Linked DNA regions of Homo sapiens: region 2 is linked to region 1. The links are contacts of gene promoters, found by promoter capture Hi-C in blood cells and fetal thymus (Javierre and others, 2016). All regions are on one chromosome and are shown on one strand. Each heading gives the region's core, a stretch centred on a gene start or on the middle of the fragment in contact. The rest is flanking DNA. Distances are from core to core; before and after follow the strand shown. Region 1 holds the start of SCEL (sciellin). Region 2 overlaps MYCBP2 (MYC binding protein 2).

Region 1 (6,331 bases), core at 3,318-5,817:
TCACTATTAAGGGGAAATGTGGAAGACATTAAGAAGATGACAGAGTGGATGAATGGTTCTTCTTCTTCTTGACCATCTAATCATTGTCCTCTCAGACTTTAAAACTCTGCATCAAAATCACCTCCCAGGTTCTTCCTTCTCTCCAGTATGTGATGTCTGGCATTGAAAATTTCTGTGTATGACTTTATCATGGTGTGTTATAGCTATTTAATTCAATGTCTGTCCCTCCAAACAAATTGTAAATTCTTGGTGAGCAAGACTGGGTCTCATTAATTTTCCTTTCCCTTGGGATAGAAGCAATACTAAGAGAATTATGGGTACTTAATGCTTGTTAAATGAAGAAATGATTGAAAGAAGACAAATGAGAATAAGAAGGATAAGTTGGTAAATCCATTACGGAGGGCAGTTTGGCAAGATTTGCTCTACCAAAGTTAAAATGTGCAAACACATGGGCCCAGCAATTACATTTTTAAGAATTTATCCTACAGATTCACACATGTGCCAGCTGATTTATGTACAGTGTTATTGATGGCAGCATTGTTAGCAGAAGTTTGAAAATAATGGAAATGCCCATCAACAGTGGATTGATGACATAGATTATGGACTATCCATGTCATGGAATACCAAGCAACTGTGAAGAATCAATATAGCAAGATCTTCAGAATATAATCTTAAAGGAAATAAGCAATATTCAGAACAGTATAATATATCCATATCTTACATTTGCTTGTATATGCATAAATGTCTCTGGAAAGACCCAGAAGAAACTAATAACTGCTTTTTTTGTTGGAGAGAAAGGTTTGGAGGAAAAGGAAGACTTTTCATTTATTCCATTTTATACTTTTTAGTTTCCAAACAATGTTATATATTACTGGGTTCAAAATATAGCATAAATATACAAAAAAGAAAACTGCACACGCATGTTTATACCAGCTTTATTTATAATTGCCGAAACTTGGCAGCAACAAAGATGTCCTTCAGTAGGTGAAGTGAATAAATAAATAAACTGTGGTACATCCAGACAAAGGGATATTATTATTACTGTTATTTTATTTTATTTTTTTTTTAAGTCAGGATCTTAGTGTGTTGCCCAGGCTGGTCTTGAACTTCTGGCCTCAAGCAATCCTACCACCTCAGCTTCCCAAAGTGCTGGGATTATGGGTGTGACCTACCATGCCTGGCCTTGGAATATTATTTAACACTCAAAAGAAATGAACTATTAAGCCATGGAGAAAACTTAAATGGAAAGACATGACGAAAACTTCAATGCATATTACTATGTAAAAGAAGCCAGTCTGGAAAATGCTACATACTACATGATTCCAACAATACGACATTCTGCGAAAGGCAAAACTATGGAGACAGTAAAAAGAACAGCGGTTAACAGGGGCTGCAGGGAGGGAGGTATGACTAGGCAGCACACAAAGGATTTTTTAGGGCAGCAAAACTACTCTGTGTGGTACTATAATGGTGGATACATGTCATTAGGCATTTCTCCAAACTCAAAGAATATACAAAACCAAGAATGAACCCTGATGTAAACTATGGACTTCGGGTGTTAGTGATGCATCCATGCAGGTTCATTAATTGTAACAAATGTCCCACTGTGATGTGGGATGTTGGTAATGGGGACACTGAGGGTATACATGAACTCTTTGTTGTTTATTCTGAATTTTGCTGTGAACCTAAACTCAAAAAAACGGTGCTCATTTTGGCTGGTTGTTTCTTTGGATATAACACATAGACAAAGCAATGTGATGTTGCAACATCTAATTTTATGAGACAGGGTCAGAAAACATTCCCCCATTCAAGACCTGTGGTGGATATTGCTAATTAACCATGGACATTCCCTTGTTGAGTCCCTACTTGCTTACAAACCTCAACATATTCCTCCAGGAAGCCATCACCAATCAATTGGCATTTGTACCTGAGATAAAACCCATTTGGCATTTCAGCTTCTGAGCTTACAGTTCTAGAGAGATCTTAAGAACTCCAACACTGAAAGTGAATAGGTGTGGTGAAGCCAAGTTATTCCAAGCATGCCCAAGTCTTCCCAGTTAAACACCTGAGTGAAACTAATGCTCAGGCTATTTGGCTACCTCCACACCCGAAAACGTTCTTGATTCAACCTCTTCACATTTGAGATTTTAAATTTTAGGCAGTCATGTCTGCTCAGCATGAAGAGGTCTGAATTTTGCTCAATGGTTTAGAATTAGTCCCTTTTTATACTAGAGATTTGATTCTAAATGAAAAAACACTGGTTTGGCTTAGCAGTGTGGATGGTCTGATGTATAAAGTAAGAGAAACCCTTAATTGCATGCAGAAATAATTGCTTGGAAGCTCAAAATCCATAACTTGAGTAGCTGCACTTTACTTCATTATAAGATAAAAACTTATCTTTCTGGTTCTGTGTTTCATGAAGTAATATATTTCAACATTCTGTAATGTAAATTACAACTTATCCCTACAAGGGAGCTCTTAAACTGTTTTCTTTCTTTTTGGCTAAGTTCTAAGGCTGAAGATTGCTTCTAGTTTATCTTTTGAGTTAAGTCACGTCTTTGTTTTTCAGCTTTATCATTTGTAATATTAATATTCAAACCAAGATTTTTGGGCATCACAGAAACTTAAAGCATATTTTAAAAATATTTTGCATGTATAAAATTCCATAAAAAAGCTGAGTAGACACGTATATATGTTTTACTTTGAAAGAACATTTTCCATTTTAGATTTTCAAATTCCTCAGCCCAGAATAAGGGAACATCAGGGAACATACAGGAAGTGGTCTCCCAGTCACAATGACCACATACTGCAATTGCCTTGCTCTTCAGTCTGGGTTTCTGCTTCTTGTTACAGTCATTTCAGTGGGCGTCACTCAGCTGCATTGTAGTTTTCAGGAGCAGTTGTTCAGGGGGGATTTGGTTCATTGCTGGTGTGACATATGAATGACGATCACCCAGGAAGTTCTGATGACGTGGCTTCTCTCAACAATGTTTGCTAAGCTTCTTTAAAGCCTCTTTGGCTCTTAGGGAAGGTGTGTTTCAAAACCTGTAACAGGAGTCCCCGCCTAGAATGGCTCTTCAGTGTTACTCCTTCCTCCCAGCGGAAGCAGCCTTTGTTTTTTGTTGGGTTTTTTTTGTTTTTTTTGTCTGTTTGTTTTGTTTTTTGAGATAGGGTCTCACTCTGTCACCCATACTGGAATGCGGTGGTGTGATCACAGCTCACTGTGGCTTGGTCCTCCCATGCTCAAGAGACTCTCTTTGCCTCAGCCTCCTGAGTAACTGGGACCAAAGACATGCACTACCACACCCAGCTGATTTTTTTATTTTTAGTAGAGATGAGATCTTCTCTTACTGTGTTGCCCAGTTTGTCTCGAACTTCTTGGCTCAAGTGATCCTCCCACCTTGGCCTCCCAAAGTGCAAGTGAAAGCCACTGCAACTGGCCAGAAGCAGCCTTTGATGTTGGGTCTACTGCTGCCCTCAGCATTGAAAGAAGTTTCAACCATCCTTTTCACATTTTTTTTTTTTTTCTGAGACAGTCTCACTCTGTTGCCTAGGCTAGAGTGCAGTGGTGTGATCTTGGCTCACTGTAACCTCCACTTCCCTGGTTCAAGTGATTCTCCTGCCTCCTCCTGCCAGAGTGGATGAATGGTTCTTCTTCTTCTTGACCATCTAATCATTGTCCACTCAGACTTTAAAACTCTGCATCAACATCACCTTCCAGGTTCTTCCTTCTCTCCACTATGCGATGCCTGGCATTGAAAATTTCTGTATATGACTTTATCATGGTGTGTTATAGTTATTTAATATAGCTGGGGTTACAGGTGTGTGCCATCACGCCCAGCTAATTTTTATATTTTTAGTAGAGATCAGGTTTTACCATGTTGGCCAGGCTGATCTTGAACTGCTGACCTCAGGTGATCCGCCTGCTTCCACCGCCCAAAGTCCTGGGATTACAGATGTGAGCCACCACGCCTGGCCCCTTTTCACATTTTTTTATACATGGATAAATAAGATAGAGATTAGAATTCTTACATGCTAGGTGTATTTTCCCTCTGATAGTTTTACAAAATAGTCTAGGTGTAGAATGTGTGGAACAGACTTCTTTTGTGTTTTCTAATCCTAGGGTTCCTGGGTTTCTGAGAATTTGTTTGTCTTGAAGATTCCTTTAAGCCATATACTCCTTGCATGCTTGTCTGTGCCCCTGCCTTCCAGGTACTATGGGTGTATGGGGGTTCCTTCTATCTTGAGTTTTCAATTTTATTTTTTGAAAGAGAATACAAAATAGGTTGGGTCCTATGCCACCTTGTCAGTGATATGGTTGTGCATACTGTTGATATCAGTTAAAAGGGTGATCACAGGAGCATATATATATATATGTTTTTTTTTTTTTTGCATAAGGCCATAAGTTAAACAAAGAATTCAAACAAAGACAGTAGGTATATGAGTGAGAATGCTTTAATTGAACTGGTATTTGTACAAGGTGACACCCTGTTGCATACCACACACCTCCTCCCTGAGTGACTCAGCCGCTGAGCAAGAAACCTCTGAACTGTTCACTAATACAGTCAGGTAGAGGTTGAGACTCCACTGAATAAACTCTAGGTTCCCATTTCTTTCAGCCAGATCCTCCCAGGGAATCACTACAGGCTGGTTAGCCAAAAAGTCCTGATTTTCTGCTCAATAGAGGTAAGTTGAATTATACTTGCAAACAGAAATACATCTGCTGTATGTGCACAGCTTTCTCTGTGTTCCTTACAAATGATTAAAATTAGAACTTACTGTATTATCTTTGTCTTTTCTTCCTGTAAATTTTGACAGCCTCCAGCTGGCTGTTAGCTCTGCTCTTCCTTGCTGTACTTTTAGGTCACATTGCATTGAACTTCTTGGCAATTTTACACGTTATGGGCATCACAGAAACGAGCACCTATTTGATTTTCTGGGTGGGAGCTGTCAGCTGGTGAATCCTGCCACACAAAGGATAATAAATTCTTTAAGTGAAGGGACCAGCACCTGCTGGTTTATTTTCTCAAGCGACTATACAAACATTTTTTAAAGGATCTTTCTGTTTTCATAAATGATGCTTTTAGTGAAATAGTGAACTCAAATATTGCTTTATAGTTAATAAGTCATATTTATTTTTTTCTCTACTGCTAAAAATATTGCAAGTTGCTGAGCTATGAGAGAGAGAGAGGTTTATATTTATGAGGTTTTTGTCTCCACCCTATCTTCCCCAAATAAGAAAATCACCATTTCTCACTTGAAAGTACCAAGGAGTAAAGGCAGGGTGTGGGAGCAGAATAAGGGTACATGGTTCCTCACAGGGATCTGTGGGCATCTGGCCAACTTCTCTATGGTATATTCTGCATTCTAACCTAAGGAGTGATTAATGTATATGGGGGCAATTTTCAAACTTTATTCATAGCCTAGTCCTGAAAAACCAGTTTTGGGAGACTTTTGATAAGGCTAGAAGAGTTCTTTTAACAGAGCTTTCTTTTATAATTAATAGCTAAGCTGACTTGTGTTTTTTCTCATCATTTCTATTTATGATACAGAGCTGTGGGATTCAAATGCAGGGGCCACTCACAGCTTGCAAATTGCAGCTCTGTGTCCTCCAGAGAGGTGCCCCCACAGCATACCTGGCTCTATCTGTAGTACTTGAGTTCTCATGGCTTCCTATTGCTGACAAGGTCACCTGCAGTCTGAGAGGGGGTTAGACACACCAGTGCTCATTTCCCAAAGGTTTACAGAAGAATTTTACAACTTGGCTTTCAAGTGTTTATAGTAACCAGAAAACTAAAGTGTAGCAAGTGTGGATAATTTTATTTTTCATAAAATGTGATTACATTTAAAACTGTCTTTCACTTCCATAGTTTATAACGTAGATAAAGCCTTCCTAATATATGTGGTGCTCCAGTGTTTAAAGTATTGGAAACATCAATTTGAGAAAACTGAGAAATGACAACAGTAAAAATTTTAGTAAAACATTCAGATGATCCTAAATGTCGGGATATGCATAGAATGCCAACAACAGGCCAGAATTTTTATTGGAATGTTAGCGTCGTATAAATCTTAGATCTAATTGACAGAATATTTCAACTGAAACGGAGCATAGGCCCATCTAGTCTAATGCCTGAATTTTCTAGTTGAGAAAATCAAAGCATAAATGTTAAGCAACTTGTGAAGATCAGAGTAGCAGAACCAGAGCACGATGCCAGATTGCTTGTCTTTTGTCTTACTGAATTTTCTCAATATTTTTTCAAATGCTTTTTATCATAAAATATGTAGTAGCAATAAATGAGCCACACTCCATCACAGACTGTGGTTACCCAGC
Region 2 (5,943 bases), core at 3,164-5,663, 260 kb before region 1:
GATTCTTTGCATATTCTTCATGCAGGTAGCTGTCTACTGAGTAGGCCAAACACTGTTTCCTAGAAAGTACTGAATCTAGACTAAAATGAAAGAGTCTGTGGTAAGAAACCCTAATTTGGCCTCAGGACATGTATACATTTCCAATTTAAATGTGCTAATGAGGCTGGGTGGGGTGGCTCAGGCCTGTAATCCCAGCACTCTGGGAGGCCCAGGCGGGTGGCTCACTTCAGGTCAGGGGTTTGAGACCAACCTGGCCAAAATGACAAAACCCTGTCTCTACTAAAAATACAAAAAAATTAGCTAGGCATGGTGGCATGGGCCTTCTCAGGAAGCTGAGGCACAAGAATCACTTGAACTCAGGAGGCAGAGGTTGCAGTGAGCCGAGACTGTGCCACTCCACTCTAACCTGGGTGACACAGCGAGATTCTGTCTCAATTAAAAAAAAAAATGTGCTAATGATAAAGGTGGTCTTCAATTCTTATCTAGAGGCTCACTTACACAAGAACTCTAAAGAAGGTATGTTTAATCCCATATTAAAGCTAAATAACAGAGGACCCAATAAGTTAACTGAGTTGTCCAGTCATACAGCTAGTAGGAAGCAGGGCCAGAACTAAAATTGAACCTCTTATGAGTTCTGAGACAGTGTTCTTTACGCTACACTATTCAGTTATTATGGCCATATTAGTAAAAATATATTATCATTTCTGTTTAAATAGAAGTGATATTACTGATTAAACAAGGACAAATCACATGTTGTAAAAGATAAGAAAATTTTGGTTTATTGTGGATAGTTTCTTACCTGAGCATACCCTAACCAAGACTTTTTTTCTTTTCTGTTTCTAATACGGGATGTAGAATTGTATATATGGCCCTGCAAAAAAAACAAAAGTTAGTATATCAGTGGTTTCATAATTAATAATCAATGAAAAATAATACAAATGGGTGAATGACATTTAATGCATGTATTTCAATTATGGTTTTCAAATAAATATTATTACACTAAAATTAGATCATATTCTAGAAATGAAACTAGAAACACACAGAACACAATTCATTATGGTTATAACTCTGTATAATTAAGGAACTGTAAGGAATCACATTACCCTAACTGTTCCACTGTATCCAGAGCCTATTTTATATAATCCATCCTTGCATAATAGATAAAGAAAAAATCCATCATTCTGAAGTAGACATTGGTCATCTTCATCAACAGATATTTCTTTTAATGGCCACTTGTGCATTAAAGCTGCTTTCTTAATGCCATTACTAAACCAGTCCTGAATTTGAATTTTTCCCACCAAAACTGCTTGTACACTTCTCTGTAGCGAATTTAGAATTGTTGGCACCTAATCAAAAGAGAAGAAAAATAATGAAAAAACATTTTTAAATGTTACAAACACAGAACAAAGATACTTTGGTAATACATCATCATTCATAAGACAATAAATTGTTCAGAATGATATTTCGCATGCCAGCAAAAAGTACCAACTAAAAGTTCATCTATAAGAAGCAAATCTCAAGCAAGGTAGACTTCCTTACTCTTGGGATTCCATGTCATTCACCAATTCTGTAAAATCTTAGCCATTATTTCAAGTACTCTATCTCCACAAATCTATTATTGCCTTGTGGAACTCAGATTGTATTACATTAGATTTTGTCATTCTCGATCCATGTTTCTTATTTTATCTTCCATATTTCTCTCCTTGTCTCTCTGTTGCATTCTAGATAATTTCTTCCTCTTTATCTTTCAGTTCACCATTTCCATCTTCAACCATATTATACAATAGTTAACCCATTTTAAGTTTCTAATTGTAATTATTTGGTTTTTCATTTCTAGGAGTTCGATTTGTTTTTTTTCCTAATGTCTGACTACTTTTTATATTCTCACTACTTAATCATACTTTTGATATTTTCTTTTATTACTTTAACCATACTTTATATATTCATACACATACACATTCTATATCAAATAATTTCAATATCTAAGGACTTGGCAGGATTGATTCTACCATATTTGTTTCTGCTAATTCTCAATAATGGTGCCTTTTTCCATGTGCTTTTTTTATTAATTTGTTTCTGAGCTCAAATGCAATAAATAGTGTTTTATTTGCAGAAAGCCTTTGAAGTCAAGAGTTCAACCCTCCAGAAAGGATTTCAGTGTCTTTCAATACAGCATCTTGCAGTACTACCATGTCTACCCTGCTTTAAACTCTCTGTTAAGCTTTATGAAATGGACAAGTAGTATGCATTTGGGTGCCAAAACAAATCTGAGATGTGAAGAGTTACACATACTCATATGGTTTGGTTGTGTTCCCACTCAAATCTCATCTTGAATTCCCACGTGTTGTGGAAGGGACCCAGTGGGAGGTAACTGGATCATGGGGGCAAGTCTTTCCTGTGCTGTTCTCATGATAGCGAATAAGCCTCACGAGATCTGATGGTTTTATAAAGAGGAATTTCCCTGAACAAGCTCTCTTTGCCTGCTGCCATCCACGTAAGACATGACTTGCTCCTCCTTGCCTTCCACCATGATTGTGAGGTTTCTCCAGCCATGTGGAACTATAAATCCATTAAACCTCTTTCTTTTGTAAATTGCCCAGTCTCGGGTACATCTCTATCAGCAGCGTGAAAACGGACTTAATGCACACATTCTCAGGGAAAGCTTTTCTCCCTCTACCAACAGTCAGGCCAGGAGAGTTTTGGGAAATGAAGTTGGTAGATAAAAGGCCAAATCATGAAGAGCACTGCAAGCCATGTTAAGGTAATGGGCTTTAATATGGAGTTTAGGCTAGAGTTGGGGATGTGGTGATGTGGCAGGTCTGTAGAGAACTGCAGCTATTGATTCAGAGGATCAAGTAGTTTTGTGTTGTCTAGTGATTGAGCATAAATATTGGAGACAGATAAGCCCTCGAGTCCTGTCTCTGTTATTTGCCAGCTCTGTATGCTGTGGCTACGCTATTTGACAGCTCTCTATGCTATAGCTATACTAAACTTCTTTCAGCTTTCAAATATTTCACTCTTACTCTCACCTCCATGCCTTAGCATGTGGATACCTAGAACATTCTCTCTCTACACCACCAACACCAAAAATTTCTCCTGGCTGATTTCAACTCATTAGTTTAGATCTCACCTCATATCCTCTGGGAGGCTTTCCATGAACGTAGTTCTTATACTCCTGCTATGAGCTCTAATGGCATTCCTAAGTCTCTATATAAAAGCAAATCATATCAAAATTCATAAGCTCATATGTTGGTGGTCACTATCCTATTAAAATCTGGTATATGGTATCTGAATGTTTGTGTTACTTTATTACAATTTTTAAAATATTTGCATATTTTAAACATATATTTAAATTAAACATTTGCCAAACCCTGAAAGCATGTCTACAGAACACAGCTTGAAAACCACTGTATTAGAGCAACTTCAAAATAATTAAGGACCATAAAAAGGGACAAAAGGATTCCAAGCAAGGCAGAAAGGAAGAAAAGAGCAGAAATCTTGAGTAAGGGAATGGGTCTTGTTTGACCAGGAGAGTTCAAAATCACTGAATAAGACAGAAAATGACCAATATACTCCTTTTGCTATCTTTGGTCTGCTAATAACAGGATTGAGGCATCCCTTCCACCTGCCCTAGGGTTGCCCAAGGGGCCAGAGAAGAGTAGACAGTCAGGTCTTAAGATCATAACTTCTTTCTCAATTTCCAGAGCCTTCCCAAATAATTAAGTCAAGTTTGCCTATAAGGATTATTTTTCCCACCACTAAAATGGTGATGAGCTTGTTTGTTCCACAACTGAATATTAAAAGCCTAAAATGTTTTATACACAGCTGAAGTAACTCAGAAACGAATCAATTCATAAAAAAATCATAATCAACCAATCAAAAATATATCAGATTGATACCATATCTTTTTCTTTCAATAGAGAAAAGATATTTAAAACCATGAATGAATTCCATACTAAAAAACTCAGGGAAAGATGGGAAGAAGGGAGAACGCAGACAGCAAGAAAACAGCAAGGAAAGAGAAGGCTATGGTGTTAAGGCAAAGACCAGCTTAAAGATTTAAGAGGTCTGGCCAAAATTCATTTTATTATATTTAAAGCTTCAGAGTTAAACATACATATCACTTAATTGAAATACTGTAGATTATTTATGTATCAATCTTGGACAGATTAAGCTACTGTAATGAGTGAGAAAAAGCAGAATTCCTATTGACAGAAATTGAGACGAAACTGTAACTTGTCATCTTATAAACTTCTAAGCAGATATAAATATGAAATACCTGAATAGTTTGGCAAGCATGGCTTCCATTGTTGGTGAGGATAGCAGAGATGGCCTGAAGTGTCCTTCCTGTTTCTCCCCAAGAAGCCACCAGACTAAAGAGGCAAGCACAGGAAAGTGCTGTTAAGGACTGTCCTGTGCTGTCATTCATCCCAGTACTTCGAACGGTGATTTCCAAAAGAAGCTGGAAGAGAGACTCTGTGGATAAAATAGAATTCAATTATATTCATCCAACATACGGAACATTATATGCGTATATTTATTTATTTTTACTTTGTCTCATTATAAACGAAATTTAAGGAATCTAGAACAATTACTTTGCTTTAGTTTCTTTCTAGTTACTCTCTTCCCCAAAAGTTAAAATATTTATGTAACAAGGGTCTTAAAGAACATTCAGTTCAACTCCTTATTTTTCTTAGTAAAAAAAGACAATCTAAGGTCTTTTAAAACAAGCTTGCCTAGAGGCATTCACATATTCAAGAAACTCATCCTATCAAGTAATAGACTACTTGTCATACTTATTTTACCTTTTAGATTAGGAGGCTTCTTAAAATGTTAAGTGTCCAGGAAATTATGTATATATTTTCAAAGTAATAGAAACATAAAACATATGCAATAATGTGCTTTAATATAAAATTGGCTATATCATTAACATAATAGCAATTCACACTTAGGATGTAATTCATTTATACCCTAGAAAAACCTCCAAGTCAATAGGACAGATATTCTCCCCCTTTAATAATGAAATTGAGATATGTGGTATCAAAAGATTTTTCCTAAATCATAAAGTCATTTAGTGGTGAAGATGAAACACACACACACACAAATGTTTTACAACCAGCAGAGGTCTCTGCACAAAATTCCCTGAACACCTCCATCTAAGATTCAATCAACAGACATCTGGGTATTTCTTCCATAGAACGGAGACTTGAAAATCCTTATAGAGTGAATAATCAGATGGAGAGGGAAAAAGAGAGTTAGAAAAAGAAAAACTGAGAAACATGAAGAGAGGGAAAGGGAAGGGAGAGAAGGAGGAGAACAAGAGAAAGAGGAGTAATGTACTGCAATTCTCTAAAAACTAAAATGCCACCTGTGGGTTATCTGGTAACTTACAGAAACCCAGGCAGCCCCTACCAATCCCTCATCTTCCATAGCTAATCCCAAATTAAGTCCTGTTTATTTTACTTCCTAATGGATAACTCCACTTTTCCCTATCTCATCATCATCTTTCCAATCCATGCTATCATCATCTCTTTGATAAAAAGTGTTAAGAAATTATCTCTTACCATTCGCTTTTGCCCCAATAGCCAGGGAGAATTTCAAACCAAAAATCTGATTGTCTACTTAAAATTCTTTCACTCCTTTGTTAATTTCTTCCTCCCTTCTGTCTTCTTTTCTTTCCCCCTTCCTCTCTTCACTTGTCTGTACACATCCTATACTTCCATTTTTTTCCATTTATCCTTTCCTCTACCTTTTCCTCCAGCTATCCTTCCTTCCCTCCATCCTTTCATCTATCCCTGTTTGTCCATATTTCCATCTACCCATCCTTCCTCCAATTATTATCCTTCAGTGAGTACATCTGTTGATTATTCAGCAAATATATACCGAACTCTCACACACTGGCAACTATTCTACACTAGGGTATTGGCAAACATGACAAAGAAT

The links. The method cuts DNA at HindIII sites, captures the fragments that hold promoters and counts their contacts. A CHiCAGO score of 5 or more calls a contact.
Region 2: a fragment that was not itself captured here is called in contact with the fragment with the promoter of SCEL in region 1 in 1 of 17 cell types (naive B cells); the score reaches 5.0 in naive B cells.

What each region holds. Positions count from the first base shown.
Region 1 is chr13:77,531,139-77,537,469 of GRCh38, forward strand. SCEL (sciellin) reads left to right here and starts at 4,568. Exons shown (of 33, transcript NM_144777.3): 1 at 4,568-4,686. The HindIII fragment of the contact is 4,847 bases long and covers 2,998-6,331 here.
Region 2 is chr13:77,269,193-77,275,135 of GRCh38, forward strand. It overlaps MYCBP2 (MYC binding protein 2), which reads right to left. Exons shown (of 83, transcript NM_015057.5): 5 at 4,280-4,476; 6 at 1,104-1,346; 7 at 800-871. Among named protein-coding and RNA genes, the nearest start is that of MYCBP2, 55 kb to the right of the region's middle. The HindIII fragment of the contact is 632 bases long and covers 4,098-4,729 here.